2 separate regions of the Homo sapiens genome follow, and region 2 is linked to region 1. Evidence: promoter capture Hi-C in 16 types of primary human blood cells and fetal thymus (Javierre and others, 2016). All regions are on one chromosome and are shown on one strand. The core of a region is centred on a gene start or on the middle of the fragment in contact, and the rest is flanking DNA. Distances in the headings are between cores, read along the strand shown. Region 1 holds the start of EIF1 (eukaryotic translation initiation factor 1). Region 2 holds the start of SMARCE1 (SWI/SNF related BAF chromatin remodeling complex subunit E1).

Region 1 (2,763 bases), core at 148-2,647:
TTGTATCAAAAATTCAATTTATTCCTGTAATCCCAGCACTTTGGAAGGCCGAGGCAGGCAGATCACCTGAGGTCAGGAGTTCAAGACCAGCCTGGCCAACATGGTGAAAACCCATCTCTACTAAAAATATTTTTAAAAAACTAGCCGGGCGTGGTGGTGGATGCCTGTAACCCCAACTACTCGGGAGGCTGAGGCAGAAGAATTGCTTGAACCCAGGAGACGGAGGTTACAGTGAGCCGACACAGTGCCACTGCACTCCAGCCTCGGCGACAAAGTGAGACTCTGTCTCAAAAAAAAAATCAATTTATTGGCAATATTTAAAAATCAAGAGATTTTATGTAAACACCTGGATTTCCTGGCACTCTTGAAAAAGATCTAGCACAATGGGCTGGAGGTGAGCGGCCACTGCAGCCCGTAGTTCTTACTCCAGCCCCCAGTCCACCCCATTACATCACACTTGGCTGTTTGCACTCCTTGATCCTACTTACCTGCCTATCCCCGGAGGCCTTTGAGTCTAAAATTCCTGGTCTCTTTTCACCACTCTACTTACCCCTACAACTGAGTGTTGAAATAAATAAACTGAAAGCAAGAAAGGTTGACTGTTTTGAAGGAAATATTTCATCTAAACTCTAGGAAGGCTCTACTCCACACAAGCTGTGCCACATGAAGGACGCCCTCTGGTGCCAGAATTATTCTCGGGGGGGCCCAGAACCAGTTACTATACCTTGAACTCATGCCAATGAGCTGGGCACACTTTTTCCTTAGATGGATTAATCTAATCTAAATGAAAATTTTAGATCGGATTAACCCACTTTAGAATAAATCTAAATGGCAATCTAAATTATGCGGTTACCGTTTTGATTATATTATTGTATGTTGATTAATCAAAGTGCCGCCCTAAATCCCGCTGTGACTCCGTGGGTAGTAGGGTGGGTAGGTAGGTGGGTTTGACACAACGGGGATTTCTCGTGTTTGGGAGGCTCATCATCTAAATCCTCTCTAAGGAGTGTTCATTTACCATATGAAACTCCCCTTTTCGAGAAGACAGGGATGCAACAGGGTCAAGAAGGTGGAACGTACCAAAGGACACAGTGCGTAGGCGCGCTCGAAACCTGGGCCGGTATTCTCGGCACCCAGACACCGTCCACTCGCACTGCGCAGGCTCCGAGACAGATCAAGCTTTCCCTCCCCCTCCCAGCTCTCCTAGAGTCAAGAGGACGCCCTCCTGCCGCAGACTTCCTGCGCAAGCGCCATCCCATGTCCCCGCCTCCAAACCAATTGGAAGCGGCGCCGCCTGGGCGCTTGGGGCACGACGCTGTGGGTGGGGTCAGGACGTGAGGGCAGCGCGCTGGCGTCAGAGGCGCGGCTATATAACTAAACACAGGCACCGCCCCTCTGCCCCAGTCACTGAGCCGCCGCCGAGGATTCAGCAGCCTCCCCCTTGAGCCCCCTCGCTTCCCGACGTTCCGTTCCCCCCTGCCCGCCTTCTCCCGCCACCGCCGCCGCCGCCTTCCGCAGGCCGTTTCCACCGAGGAAAAGGAATCGTATCGTATGTCCGCTATCCAGAACCTCCACTCTTTCGGTAAGCTATGGGAAAGGTCGCGGGCCCGGGTGGGGCAGCGGGGCCTTCCGGGCCCGGAGACGTGTTCCGGGAAGTTGCCAAGCGCTCCGGGCCTTCGTAAGCTCGGGCAGGGGAAACTTGACCAGGGTCGCAGGGCAGCGGGATCAAGGCCTGGGCCCCGGGGTCGGACCCTGAGCGCGACCGGAAGGAGCAGGCGGTAGGTCAGCCCTTGGGCGGGCCCGGCGTCTCAGTGGCGCATTTACTAATGGCTCCTGGGCCTCCTCGGGCCACACCCGCCCCTCCCGTCACCATTGCGTCACGTCCGTTACGTCACCACCCGTTGTCACGGATCCGGAGGGAAAGGCGGTGCCAGCCCTAAGTGGCAAGCGGGTGCACCAATGGGGGTGGGAGGCTTAGCCCCGCCTCGGGAGCTCGGGTTCCGGCGGGTTGCATCAGCTGGGTGGGGCACCGCCTGGCAGCCCGGACTCCCCCGACATGTGATCGGCTTCCCAGGGAGGGCGGGAGGCCCGGGCGTTCCCCGAGCCTGGGGAAGCTGGCCGTCCCGGACTGACCTGCTCGGGGAGAGCCAGCAAAGGACACATTCGGCCTGGCCCAAGCCCTGACGATTTCAGTGTTGTTTTCTGCACGCGCAAAACACCTGGGGACCGAGGGGATGGCAGTGGCATCCTATCTTTGACAGCTCTGAACGAGCTTAACCTTTTTTTTCAGACCCCTTTGCTGATGCAAGTAAGGGTGATGACCTGCTTCCTGCTGGCACTGAGGATTATATCCATATAAGAATTCAACAGAGAAACGGCAGGAAGACCCTTACTACTGTCCAAGGGATCGCTGATGATTACGATAAAAAGAAACTAGTGAAGGCGTTTAAGAAAGTAGGTCTTCAGTGAGATTTTGGGAAAGTCATAATGGATTTGTCCACAAGGGGGTGCCAGCTGTGTTGTATGTATTGTTAGCGGAAGGGGTGATAAATGCGTTCATGCTCTTGCTAGGCCTAATTCGTTTTCCTTTGTGCTTGCAGAAGTTTGCCTGCAATGGTACTGTAATTGAGCATCCGGAATATGGAGAAGTAATTCAGCTACAGGGTGACCAACGCAAGAACATATGCCAGTTCCTCGTAGAGGTGAGTTCAGTCACTACTTGATTTGTGCCTCTCTGCTGGCAAATCTCAGATCCTGTCTGTT
Region 2 (2,763 bases), core at 95-2,594, 1.0 Mb before region 1:
CCTGTACGTTATACTTCATTGTTAATACTTTAAAATTATTGCTCTCTTTTGCTAGAATACAAAATTTAAGAGTGGGCTTGTACATTTGTCCACCGTTGGATCCATCTTTGGTGCCTGGCATAAAAATAAATACCCGATAAATATTTGTTCAAGAAATACTTTATACGGGGTACGCTTATGACACTATTTCGCTTAACACTCACAAGTACTTTATATGTACAGCTATCCCCATTTTACAGATGAAACAAGGGAGTCTCGGAAAGTTTAAACAACTTGTCTGAAGCCATATGCAGCCAGGAAGTGCCAAAGTTGGGTTTCAAACCCAGGCCAAACTATTTCAGAGCTCTGCTCGTCCTCAAGTCGCTGCCTGAACCAATGGGGGAACCTTCTGCCCGGGTGGGGGGTGAACCACGGACCTGCCTTGCCCACGGCTTCCTGAGGTCGCTCTCTTTGTCTTGGAGAATGTACTTTACTAGCAACTCCCCTAAAACGGGGTATTCACAGGTGCTTTGACCAATTTCGGGGGACTGGCCTTGCCTCCAAGGAGGGGGCCCCAGATGGGACTCCCTCCCAACCCTCGCTCTGCTAGGCCTCAAGGAGGCCTCAACCGGCTCCTGGCTCTGGCCCCACGGCCAAGGCTGAACCCCAGCAACCCCCGGGAACTCGGGGTCTAGCCAAGCGGGGACACCACGACTTGCACCCACCGACCCGGTCCGTCCCACTTGGAAACACTCACCCGCGGGCAGAAAAAGCGCCCGCAGCTCCGGCTTCGCTTCCCTTTGTCCCGCGCTCGCCCCGCCCCTCGCGTCCGGAGCTTCCGCACTCGCACTTTCCACACTCTTCTTAATTTTTTTTTTTTTCCGGGCCCCACCCGACCCTCTTTAGAAAAACTAACCTTCTAGTGAAGATGCGGTGATGCTTAGCACACTCAGGGATTTTTTTCAGGACCCATTGGATCCTCAAAACTCCCCGAATTTTGATACTTTCCCAGCCGGGCGCTGATTCGTCACGGCGAAGAGGGCCGAGGAGGCCCGACCTAACACAGAATAGGCCTGGGTTTAGCGGCTGTGAGGAGCCGGAGCCGCCGCAGCGACCGAGGAAGTGGCGGGAGGTGCCGAGCCTTGCGGAGGGGCGGTGGGGGCCGCGGTGGGAGACGGCGGATGGCGCTCAGCGCGAGGCCGCGGAACCACTGTGGCAGCAAGCAGTTCGGCCAGACTCCCGCTGAGCCCGCTCCTGGAGGGGCCCTCCCCGACTCCGGTCTTGCTTTCCTTTAGGCTGTGGGTCAGAGTCTACACTTCACTAAACCTGGGATGGAGGCGTGGAGGACTTGCTTCGCGGCGTTTGCGTCCTCGCAGGCGCCTCGCAGGGCTTCCTGCCCTCACGGCGGGGGAGTAGCTTTGGCGAAAATCAGCACGAGTTCTGCAGTTTTTCCAAGCGCTTTTAGGGTGTAATCGTCCCAGGTTTCTAAGCCAAGGCCCGGAGAGTTGACCCCCTCGCAACAGCTTGTGTGTCCTTGCAGCGCCGCGGGTGCCACCTGGTCTCCGCCTCAGCGCTGCCTCGGCTCCTTCGGTTCCCACCAGCGGGAACGACCGTCCCCACTTTCAGCTTAAACTCATCTGTCCTTCTGGATCCAGCTCAGAGGTCTCTTTGTGATGCCCTCCTGGAACTTCCCCCCTAGTAATCCTTCCTTTGTATTCCCGTGGCTCTTTGATAATAATGGTTGGAGTCCTGAACCCGACCCTTTGTATCGGACCGTGTTTGTCATCTCCAGTGCTTTATGAAGGCCTTGAAAGCAAGGTTCAGCCGTCTGTATTGGTCATCTTCCCATTGCCAGTGCCTACGAAGGGCTTGACCCATTCATTGTTAGACGCTCAGTAAGTGTGTATTGAGGCAGCCCTCTGTGCCACTCCAGGGCTCTTTCCACTAAATCATGAGTATGTTGGTTTACCAGATGGAATGAGTAGCCTCTTCTTTGGATACATAAACACCCGATGGATATTGTGGGTCACTGTGGAGGGAGAATGAACGTATGGGATCCCTGACCTGTGGTTACTGGAAAACAGTTGACATTTAGAGAGAGGCTGAATTCTTGGGCTTCCCGTAGCCCCCATCCTGAGTGTGCCAACAGGGACTAGAAGCATCTCTAGTCTGCAAAGCGAGGAACAAGTGATACTCTGTCCAATTTTTCCAATATTGTTATACTCATGAATAGAGATTAATGAAATTGAAGAGCATATTCAAGAGAAAGACTAAAGGAGAAGTCGTCTGCCCCGTGGACAGGCAGCTTGAGTGGTGCTTGAGAAAATGTACATGAAATTGCTTGTTAAAAAATATTCACGCCTGTAATCCCAGCTCTTTTGGGAGGCCGAGGCGGGCAGATTACTAGGTCAGGAGATCGAGACCATCCTGGCTAACACGGTGAAACCCCGTCCCTACTAAAAATACAAAAACAAAATTAGCCGGGCGTGGCGGCGGGCGCCTGTGGTCCCAGCTATTGGGGAGGCTGAGGCAGGAGAATGGCGTGAACCCGGGAGGCGGAGCTTGCAGTGAACGGAGATGGCGCCACTGCACTCCAGCCTGGGCGAGAGAGCGAGACTCTGTCTCAAAAAAAAAAAAATTATATATATATATATGTATATATCCATCAGAGACATGTAAAGGATTAAAGTACGATACACAAAGGCCTCAGAAGGGATTTCAGTACATTCTTTTTCTGGCTTCGTCCAGCAACTCCAGCCTGGTTTCTTCCCTGCCTTTGGGATT

Evidence for each region. The method cuts DNA at HindIII sites, captures the fragments that hold promoters and counts their contacts. A CHiCAGO score of 5 or more calls a contact.
Region 2: a fragment that was not itself captured here is called in contact with the fragment with the promoter of EIF1 in region 1 in 1 of 17 cell types (non-activated CD4 T cells); the score reaches 5.1 in non-activated CD4 T cells.

The regions. Positions count from the first base shown.
Region 1 is chr17:41,687,488-41,690,250 of GRCh38, forward strand. EIF1 (eukaryotic translation initiation factor 1) reads left to right here and starts at 1,398. Exons shown (of 4, transcript NM_005801.4): 1 at 1,398-1,582; 2 at 2,291-2,454; 3 at 2,601-2,702. The coding sequence starts at 1,552. RefSeq lists enhancers at 1,099-2,007, 1,993-2,082, 2,008-2,763 and a silencer at 1,223-1,612. The HindIII fragment of the contact is 2,180 bases long and covers 1,178-2,763 here.
Region 2 is chr17:40,647,037-40,649,799 of GRCh38, forward strand. SMARCE1 (SWI/SNF related BAF chromatin remodeling complex subunit E1) reads right to left here and starts at 782. Exons shown (of 11, transcript NM_003079.5): 1 at 737-782. RefSeq lists a silencer at 1,021-1,315. The HindIII fragment of the contact is 6,478 bases long and covers 1-2,763 here.